Linked DNA regions of Homo sapiens: all the other regions are linked to region 3. The links are contacts of gene promoters, found by promoter capture Hi-C in human tissues and cell types (Jung and others, 2019). All regions are on one chromosome and are shown on one strand. Each heading gives the region's core, a stretch centred on a gene start or on the middle of the fragment in contact. The rest is flanking DNA. Distances are from core to core; before and after follow the strand shown. Region 1 has its middle 27 kb from the start of LRRC58. Region 2 overlaps LRRC58 (leucine rich repeat containing 58). Region 3 holds the start of GPR156 (G protein-coupled receptor 156).

Region 1 (3,413 bases), core at 824-3,323, 37 kb before region 3:
TGCATGCTCTAATAAGAAATTGGTGACATCATCTTGCTGACTAAGGCCAGTTACTTCTTGTATTTAGTACAGAATCACACAGTCTTAACCCACAGTAATATAGTTCTAACTGAGCTCATTGACATAGCACTTCATACCAATATTTTATAGTGCCATTATTTTGGCACCTGACATTTTTCTAGATTCCAGGATATGGAAAAATATTGTGGTTTTAAGTTGGGGTAAACAGAGTGGATAGGAAGGACATGTACTTTGCAAAACAGCTAATGTTTCAAATGTGCTAAGATGGAAGAAACTCAGCACTTCCCTGGTTAATATATAGGATGGTGATATGGTTTGGCTGTGTTGCCACCCAAATCTCATCTTGAATTGTAGCACCCATAATCCCCACGTGTCATGGGAGGGACCCAGTGGGAGGTAATTGAATCATGGGGCGGGTTTTCCCATGCTATTCTTGTGATAGTGAGTAAGTCTCAGGAGATTTACTCACTAGGGCAGTTCTCCTGCACAAGCCTGCTGCCACTTAAGATGTGCCTTTCCTCCTTTGCCCTCCACCGTGATTGTGAGGCCTCCCCAGCCATGTGGAATTGTAAGTCCATTAAGCCTTTTTCTTTATAAATTACCCAGTCTCGGATATTTCTTCATAGCAGTATGAAAATGGGCTAATACAGATGACTGCTTGGCAAAGACAGGCCCAAAAAATTTGAGGGAGAAGAGAAAACACATAGAGTGTATGTGTTTGATACCCTCTATGTGTTTGTCTGATCTCTTTCCTTTTTTTTGAGATGGAGTTTCACTCTTGTTGCCCAGGCTGGAGTGCAATGGTGCAATCTTGGCTCACTGCAACCTCTGCCTCCCAGGTTCAAGTGATTCTCCTGCCTCAGCCTCCTGAGTAGCTGGGATTACAGGCGTGCACCACCATGCCCAGCTAATGTTGTATTTTTAGTAGAGACGGGGTTTCTTTATGTTGGTCAGGCTGGTCTCGAGCTCCCGACCTCAGGTGATCCGCCCACCTCGGCCTCCCAAAGTGCTAGGATTACAGGTGTGAGCCACCGCACCTGGCCTCTCTTTCGTTTTTTTGTTTTTTGTTTTTTTTTTTTTTGAAATGGAGTCTCACTCTGTCACCAGGCTGAGTACAGTGGCGCAATCTCGGCTCACTGCAACCTCCGCCTCCCAGGTTCAAGCGATTCTCCTGCCTCAGCTTCCCAAGTAGCTGGGACTGCAGGCGCGTGCCACTGTGCCCAGCTAATTTTTGTATTTTTAATAGAAACGGGGTTTCATCACGTTGGCCAGGATGGTCTCGATTCCTGACCTCGTGATCTGCCCACCTCTGCCTCCCAAAGTGCTGGGATTACAGGCGTGAGCCACTGTACCCGGCCTCCTTTCTTAAAGGTAAAACCGTTCTCTAATCCACCTAGTCTCCATAGCATTAGTGCCACAAGAACATTTTACTCTTAAATGACTTGTCTAATTCTTTGCAGATACCAAATATAAAGCCAGAACATTTCTGGGGATATGTATGACGGGCATGTTCCATCCATCACACCAGTCACTTCCAGCTTCATGAACAATCTGTCAGAATCCCGTAGAATATTAGAGCTAGAAGAAACTTTAGAAATCTGAAATTGACACACTTGTTTGAAAAATGAAAAAAATTCAAATCGAAAGAAACTTTTTCTAGAATCCATATGGCTGAATCTTGAATCCAGGCTTTCAGATTACCGCTTCAAGACTTGTTTCTGGCCAGGCGTGGTGGCTCACGCCTATAATCCCACCACTTTGGGAGGCCAAGGTGAGTAGATCACGAGGTCAGGATTTCGAGACCAGCCTGGCCAACATGGTGAAACCCTTGCTCTACTAAAACTATAAAAAAATTAGCCGGGCATGGTGGCAGGTGCCCATAATCCCAGCTACTCAGAAGGCTGAGGCAGGAGAATTGCTTTAACCCAGGGGGCAGAGGTTGCAGTGAGCTTGTATCAAGCCACTGCACTCCAGCCTGGGTGACAGAGCAAGACTCCATCTCAAAAAAAAAAAAAAAAAGACTTGATTCTGCTATAGGATGCTGCTTCCTTTGTTTAATATGCTGTAACAGGAAATCAGTAACAGTATTAGTACTCCACAATAACAGGCCTACTAGTATTGAAGTGATGCGATCTGCACTATATCTCAATGTATTCAGAATTTTAGATCTGGTGATGACTTTAAGAGTAAACAGCTGGGTACCTCTTTAAAGCACATTCAAGAGGCTATCTTATTTAATCGTCATGACACTGCTGAGGTAGATTTGGTGACGTACGTTCATGTGGTTTATCAAAGCCTTCCCCCTTCCTTCTGCCGTTTGAAATCAACTAAGAAATTGACATTGACCTGAGATAGGGAACAAAATACCAGCTCTATCAAATCAGAATTGAGCTGCTTATATTCTTTCCCTTAATTAAATTGAATGTAACCAACCAAAATCACAGGCTTCCCCTGCGAGGACTGAGTCTACCCCTGGATAGTATTCTATACTACTGCCCAGAACATACCACTTTGGGCAGACAGATCCAAAGGAGCACAGGTAAATTCTTAAACCCCTTAGTGCTGCCCAGTAGAGAAACTAGACCAATTATCTTCAGTCTTCGGCCATCTAAGCAGATGAATTAAGTCTTTATCCCACAGGGAGGAAAAAGATGTTGGAAAGTGTTTCCTCTGGGCAGCTATTTTCAAACCTTGCTGAACAGTAGAATCACCAGAAAAGCTTTCAAAATATACAGATACAAAGACACCATCCCCAGACCAATTGAAACTTGATCTCTAAAGATAGAGTCTTGGCATCCGTAGTTGTAGAAGCTCTTGTAGGTGACTTGGTTTCCCAGTGAGGGTGATAATCAGTGTTTTAGTGAAAGTCCCTTTATGGTAACTTGAGGTCAATGGAGTAGAGTTTTTCTTAATAGATAAATGGGACCAAAGTGATGAAGTGACTTGCTCAAGTTCTCTTAGATGTTGCTGTGGCTAAAATTTATTCATCTGTACCCCCAATTTTTTTTAATTGAATGCATACTTCAGACCAGGCACTGACTGCTAATCCAATGTTTTTTGCTTCTCCCTGTCAGTCACTTTTCTTCTGAACTGGAAGTGTTTTGAGGGTATATGATGTTACATTCAAATGGATTGGCCATTTTGAAGCCAGTTACAACTAAGGCAGAGTGTTCACCAAATTGTGGAAAACAAAAGCAGCAAACAGATCAACTTGACCAGAAACATTCGTGAAAGAAAGACTTGGTCAAATATTTCAGGTTATGGCCACAGGCAGGAGACAACCTTTCCATCTATGAGGAAACCCTTGTCAAGTTGTACACTGGTTTTATTGATCACAGATAAACACATAGCTAACATCATAAACAACAGTAAACAGCAAGACATTCCTAAGA
Region 2 (3,592 bases), core at 676-3,175, 60 kb before region 3:
GAGAGTTTTAAGCATGTGTCTTGTTGCTATGCAAGAATGGAGTGAGGAGAGGGTGAAGAGATAGAGATTTTGAGGGCTGGTTTGAAGGAGGTCATTGTAATAGGATGAGAGATGATGGTAGCCTATACCAGCTTGATACTAGGAGAAATGCTAAGAAATGGAAGATTTCGAGAAAAGATTTAGAGGTAAAATTGACAGCCCTTGGTTCCTTCTAATTTTAATGTTGCATAATTCCAGCCTTGGAATTTTCTTAATATACTAACAGGAACCCAGGGAAAGTATTATTTCCATCACATGGGGAGAAAAGTAGGCAAAAATCCCATTTATTTAATACTTACAATGCAGTAGATCCTGTCATAGGTGCTAACTATGCTTTTTAATACTCACAATGATGCCATAAGATGATGTGCTCCCATTTTTCAGAGGCAGAAACTGAAGCTCAGAGAAATTAAGTCATAAGATTACAAGGCTAGTAAGCATTGGAACTGTATTTGACCTCTGTGGTCTGTGACTCCAAACCCTTGAGTTCTGCACAGTGGCAGAGTACTAGAACCTGAATCTTTGTTGGGGGGTTGGAGGGTCATGGTTTTTTGCTTGTTTTTGTTTTTTGTTTTTTGTTTTCTGTTTTTTTGAGATGGAGTTTCACTCTGTTGCCCAGGCTGGAGTGCAGTGGCATGATCTGGGCTCACTGCAATCTCCGCCTCCTGGGTTCAAGTGATGCTCTTGCCTCAGCCTCCCAAGTATCTGCGACCACAGGAGCGTGCCATCACGCCAGCTAATTTTTGTACTTTTAGTAGAGACAAAGTTTCACCATGTTGGCCAGGCCAGGCTGGTCTCAAACTTCTGACCTCAAGTGATCCACCCACCTCTGCCTCCCAAAGTGTTGGGATTACAGGCGTGAGGCACTGCACCCAGCCTAGAACTTGACTTCTGTACTGTTGGATTTGTGATCAGGAGGATTTGTCAAAGTCATTCACATAGTTGACTGATCTTCTGACTCAGTTTTCTGGGCTAACAACCGTGCTATCTGTGTTTATTGTTCATTGTGTCTTTGACACCAATAATGTATGATATCTTTAACGTCACTGTTTTCATTTTTCACTTGCGTGCCTTATTTCTCGTTACTGCTAAGAATCGGTAAAGGTTTAGGCTATGCTCCACATATAAACTCTGATTGTAGGTTAAAAGGGTTGTGTAGAAATATACTCTGAGCTAGAAAAAGCCTTGGCAGTGACCCGATTCATCCCCTTCTATTTACAGATGAGGAAACTTAGATTTATTATCAGTGATTTACTTGAGGCGAGATAGTGACAAGTGAGAGTTATGTGGTTCAGCCTTCAAACACTGCTAACTATTCACTACTAATATGATGCATTAAAGCTTCAAAAATGTAGAGGTGGAGGTTTAGTCTCTTAAACTACCTGTCCAAGAACACCATCTTCTCTTAGAAAATACCTGGATCCTCTAGACTTCATTGGTTACCCTGATTTATATTGATACTATGTATGCCATGCTGCTTTTTAAACCAGATCTAGTGTTTTGGCACATTAAGAAGATATGTGTCCTCTGTAAGAGCAATTATTAAAATAGTACAGACTATATAATCCATGAAAACTCCCCCACTCCTTCCACTCTTCATCATTTAAGGAAGGAATAACAAATGAATACTTATGGCTTAATTGGTGTCATTGACCTCTCCAGATTTAGCAAGATATCTATGTTTTCTATACCCTATTAATTCTTTCCCCTAGTGGCAAAATCTTTTTTTTTTTAACGTTTTCTGAAGCATCACTTTCAAAGTATAACAAATAAGTAGATGCTGAAAATCTTACTTATTTTTATGATTAACTTCCTTCCCCTCGAGTAAATTAGGTTATCAATGTGAACCATGCGGTTGTGGATGTAGTTACTTTCCATCAAAATGTGGTTATTCTTCAGCAAATAAGTGTAATTGTTTGGCTATAGTATATGGGCAAAATTTTTTTTGTTACATAATGCTGAAAAAGTAGGTATAATTCATATTCTGACTTATTTTTCTGAATCATACCTTTTATTCTTCTCAGTTAGGTTAGATATTAATTGAGGAAGAGCTTAATAGCTTATCACTCAATGGCCAATAGACTTTATTTAAGTAAACAAAAGCTTCTGGATTGTTTGGCAAATCCAGTATGCTAGATATTTGGAGAGTAGGTTTGAGCACAACTGAGTTTCATTGGTACTCTTCTACAATCTTTTCTTCTTAAGTAATGCCTTCCTTTTTCTGTTCATGATGCCTCTCACCATCTGTTTGATGTGGTTTTGAAAGATTGAGATAGGAGGGTGTGACAAAACAAAAGCTAAAAGTTAATGCTCTCAAATGTTTTGAAGTTAGTGTACAGTAGGTTGATATGTTAGAAAGGAGACAGATGACTCAACCAGATGATAGAATGCAGTAAAGTTTAAATGAAAATGCTTTTCCACATTTAGAGTCACATACTGAGCTTGTCACTGGCTCTCAACATCGTCCCTCTGACTTTTTTTATTGCCTTAATTTGGGGCAAGTGTCAAGAGATGATGCATCTATTTGTATGTCTACTTTTGAACATATAGGTACCTTATAATCCTGTGGTGTATGTTAGTATTTGTCATTTAATACAAAGATGCTACTTCAAGAAAACTTTCTTTATCCACAGATGTTCTTATCTTTCTGTTTCTTTTCCTTTCTGTTTTCTACTTCTTTGTACATTCCTATCTTACTTTAATTCCATCTCCTTTTAACCAACCATATAAGATAGGATTAATGTATTTTTGTTGTTGTTGTTGTTTGGGGGTTTTTTTTTGTTTTTGTTTGTTTGTTTATTTGTTTTTTGGAGTCAGAGTCTCGCCCTGTCCACCAAGCTGGAGTGCAGCGGCACGATCTCACCTCACTGCAGCCTCTGCCTCCCAGGTTCAGGTGATTCTCCTGCCTCAGCCTCCCAAGTAGCTGGGATTACAGGCACCTGCCACCACACCAGGCTAATTTTTTTTTAAATTTTATTTTCAGTAGAGACGGGGTTTCACCATGTTGGCCAGGCTGGTCTCGAACTCCTGACCTCAAGTGATCCGCCTGCCTCAGCTTCCGAAAGTGCTGGGATTAGAGACGTGAACCACTGTGCCCAGCTTAACGTATATTTTTATGATGTTCGGTGTCAGTTTTATTTGATTGGAGAAGCAGAAAGCATTTTCTACTTTTACTTGTGCTAGCCTGTTTTTTCAGTGGGTCATTTGTACTTGATAAGAGAAAAGGCATCCACTGCAGTATCCCTAAGGATTGGAAACGTGATTCATTTTTCAAGAGACAATTTTAAGGTCAATATATTAATGCTAAACAGGAAAGGAATAATTTGTTCCATAAATTTAGTGAGTACTTTTCTTGTTTTCTGTATTCCTCAAATACTGAAAGAATAGAATTGTTCCAACCCTAATTAACAGAGTTGCAATGTTGATAACCACAAGAACTTAAACCCTACAGTTTTGCTACAAATTCAACAACAGTTTCCTTTCTTCTTAAAAAAAAGTGTATTCAGAAACAGTAGAGTGTGTTATAGAAATTTAATTCCCACAAATCATCGAA
Region 3 (3,552 bases), core at 713-3,212:
AGATCTGTGGGAGAAGCATGGTTTCCGGGGTCGCTCATTCACTTACCACTTCCCTGGGCAGGGGAAGATCCCCTGGTTCCCTGTTGCTCCCAGGTGGGCTGTTGTCCTGTCTTGCTTTTCCTTGTTCTCTGTGGGTCAGGTTGTTTCCTTGATTAATCCCAATGCGAGTACCCGGATGTTTCAGTTGAAGGTGTTGTATCTACTCGTCCCTTCTGTTCCTCTCCGTGAGAGCCATGTACATTACCTGCTTCTGGTCAGCCATCTTGGCCACTCCCCATCCTTATGAAAGTTTACACTGTATTACAATTGCACAGGAAAGTTACTGCAGGTTTGGGAGTGGGACAGAGGATAGAGGATGTTGGCTTGTTTTGTCAAGAGAGTGACATTCTTAAGTCTATGTTGGTGGTGGGGACAGATAGGAGGCAAGAAAATCAGTTAGGAAATTATTGAAACAATTCAGCCCCAGATAATCGAAGCTTATCAAGAGCAGCAGTGTGAGAATGCAGAGAAGTGGACAGTTGCCAGAAACATCTCAGAGGTAAACATGGCAGGCCTGGAAGATGAAAACCTTCAGTGCCTGGCAACTGAGGGGTTGGAAATACTCCAATCTCAGAAAAGAGAATACTGGGATTGGAGGTGGGGGCCAAGCTGGGAGAAAGATTTCAATGTCTTGCAGAATATAGAGAGGGGTTGATGAGAATAACAGCCGAAGAGCCCAGGGGAATTCCCAGGTTAAAAAAAAAAAGCCCCACAGAGATCAGAAGGGCAAATCCTCAATCTAGAGCCACAGAAGTGAAGATTTGGCTCTAGACTCTGAAGTCAGCTCTCCTACGGAAAAAAGATGGACCCAGGCCTTTTTAACTCAGGCAGCCCCCATGGAGGAGAGAGATGGTCCTCCTCAGTTTCTGCACGTTCCAAATGAAAGGGTCCTTCTGTGTAGAATGAGAGATCTGGAGAGTCCTGGGTAAAATCTCAGACATAATTCTTTCTTCTGAGAAACCAGCTTTTTGCTTACTGCCTTGAGGAAAACCTTGTCTATCTTTCTTTCTTCCTCTTGTTTTCCCCCTCAGTAGAATCCTGTGAAAAGAAGTCTTTGGGTATCACAATGTGTAAAACAGTTAAGAATGTAGCCACTGTCTTGTCACAGTGGGGTCTGCGGACCTGGCCTCTCTCTTCCCGTCCTCTACAACCAAAGATTTCCTCTGCGCAGTTGTAAAAATGTGGAATGTCCTAATGCACATAAATAGGTCTGAGATTTTAAAATAAATGAAACAAATATAATATGGAAAGTCTAAGTGGATTCCCAAGACCATTTCCAGGTCTCCCCTCTATGTTTCTCCTTGAGGGTGTCTTAAACACAACATCTCACACATATTTTTAAGCGGAAGACAGTGGGCTGGGTGCGAACATCTTGTTTGTGGCCTCCTGTAAGCATTCTTGGAAAAAGAAACGTACTTGTCTTTCTGATTATAAAATAAGCAAAAGCTCAACGTAAAGAATTTGGCAACTCCAGAGAGTATAAAATAAGAAAACTAATTGGTAACTCCGACGCCACTCCAGAAATAAAAATGAGCATTCGCGGAGAATCCTTCCAGTCTCCTTACCGAGGCCGGCTAGGGACCTGAATCTGAAGCTCCTCGCCCCGGGGCCAGCTCCTGCGGCAGCCGCTGGCTCGAGGCCCGGGAAGGGGCGCTGAGGGGAAGGCGCCCCCCAGGGAAGGTCTCTGAGGAGACGGCCGGAGGCGGGGCCGCCCCAGGGGACTCGGCGGCGACGCAAGGAGAAAGATCCGAGGAGCTGGAGGAGCCGTGAGGCGCGTGGAGTCTGCAAGGTCCCGGAGCCCTCCCGGCCCTCGCGGGAGAGCAGGGTCGAGGCGCGCCACGCGGGCGGCGCCAGGGAGGGGCGGGCAGGCGTGGCTCAGCCAGTGCCCCGGCCAGAGGCGCCCGGCGCCCCGCGCACACCTCAGAGGCCTGCGCCGCCGTCCCGCCGCCTCCACGCCAGGCTCCCGGCGCGGCGATGGGCGCGGGCCCCTGTCTCTGCCCCGGCCCGCCCCTTCCCGCCCCTTCCAGCCCCGCGAACGCGCGAGACGCCGGGGGACCGTGGGCGTCCTGCACATAGCAGCGGGCTTGGCGCTTCTCGGCGGTCCGACGCTGATGAGGTGAGCACAGCGACCTTAAGGATCCACAAAACTTCAAACACTTAATTATTAAGTGAAAGTGGAAAGGGGGAGGGGCTTTCTCTCCCTTTCCAGAATCTGGGCAGTTTGTTTGGAACCGGTAAAGAAACTCTCATAGGAACTTGAGGTGAGCAGGGGTCACGCATCAGGGATGCGAGTGGCAATTTCAGTGGAAGAGACGGGAGAGTACTGTAATTTGGTGTGAAGATGGGGCCGTGGGTTTTCTGCTGAATAAGCGACCGGCTGTGCTGAAAATGAGAGATCCCGAAACAGTTTCCCACCGCCTGTAGACTTTCCAGAGTCTCCTCACGCCGAATCTGCTTTGCAGGGCATGTTCACCCCCAGGGTGTAGAGTGGCGGGCACGATGGGCTCCCCCATGGAGATTGCAAAGTCCTGAAAAGGGACAATTGTATTGCACTGCGTCTGTTGAACTGCCTTGCTTCTGGGCATGAGGGAGTCACCTGGAAGCTGCAACATCCTTGTACCCTGGCAAGCAGCCCTTTCCAAGTTAGCTCTGTCAGAAACTAGAGGCCTCTAGGTAGAACTCAAGGTATCCATGTACTCGTGAAGAATACAAACCTTGAGGTTTTTAAAATCGAATTTTGTTAAGATTTCAGGATAGAAATCTGGGAAGAGAAGTCATGGCATGGCATAACTTACCCCTTTGTTAGTTTTCTAGGTACATGCATGCTTGAATTAGAGGTAAATGATGCCCTAGCCTATCATAAAATGTCTTTCCTGGTGTAGTTCTTTAAACCAGAATATGGAGGATAACATTACATTTTTGCATCCTAGATAAAAGGGAAAGATTTTCAGATGGGGCTTACACAGCGGGAGAAATTGTTGATATAGTTGTATTAGGCAGCAAGGCCTGCAAAGAAAAACTTCTTTTTCTCCACCAGTGGCTGAATTCTGCACAGAATGTCTCCTCGCAGTCTGGGTAGCAGCCCGGCTTGCAAAAACAGTGCTTCTTTCATTGCTGCAGGTGGGGCAAATGCGCTTGCGGATAAATGGCTGGGGAAGCGTTTGCTTACAGGTTAAGGCAATTTGAGTCTGGAGAATAAAGTGCTTTAGCAGGCTGTGCTTGAGTTAGGTGTCCCTTGTGAGGAATAGAGGTGGCTTTCTGGTCCCCATTTTGCCAGCCTAATTCCCCTTCAGGGACACTACTGTCTCTGGAATGTTCCCTCTGTTTCCCCTTCTCTTCCACCCCCAGCTTTTAGCTTCTCCCCATTCCCCAGTAAAGTCTAGAATTGAGCCTGGTCAGAGTCAAAGTTCTGATAGCCTAGGGATATAGAACTTCAAGCCTGGTGAAGGCAGAAATGAGACCTAGGAGAGACCCAAGATGGGTGAGATGAAACAACTTTCAGCCTAGAAGGCT

Evidence for each region. The method cuts DNA at HindIII sites, captures the fragments that hold promoters and counts their contacts. A contact is called where the count stands out against the background at its distance.
Region 1: a fragment that was not itself captured here is called in contact with the fragment with the promoter of GPR156 in region 3 in 1 of the 25 tissues and cell types used here (mesendoderm cells).
Region 2: a fragment that was not itself captured here is called in contact with the fragment with the promoter of GPR156 in region 3 in 1 of the 25 tissues and cell types used here (bladder).

What each region holds. Positions count from the first base shown.
Region 1 is chr3:120,321,009-120,324,421 of GRCh38, reverse strand. No RefSeq gene overlaps it. Among named protein-coding and RNA genes, the nearest start is that of LRRC58, 27 kb to the left of the region's middle. The HindIII fragment of the contact is 7,195 bases long and covers 1-3,413 here.
Region 2 is chr3:120,343,296-120,346,887 of GRCh38, reverse strand. The region is part of intron 1 of LRRC58 (leucine rich repeat containing 58); the gene reads left to right. Among named protein-coding and RNA genes, the nearest start is that of LRRC58, 4.3 kb to the left of the region's middle. The HindIII fragment of the contact is 4,219 bases long and covers 1-3,592 here.
Region 3 is chr3:120,283,632-120,287,183 of GRCh38, reverse strand. GPR156 (G protein-coupled receptor 156) reads left to right here and starts at 1,962. Exons shown (of 10, transcript NM_153002.3): 1 at 1,962-2,155. It overlaps LOC124909418 (a long non-coding RNA gene), which reads right to left and starts at 2,028. Exons shown (of 2, transcript XR_007096029.1): 1 at 47-2,028. The HindIII fragment of the contact is 13,353 bases long and covers 1-3,552 here.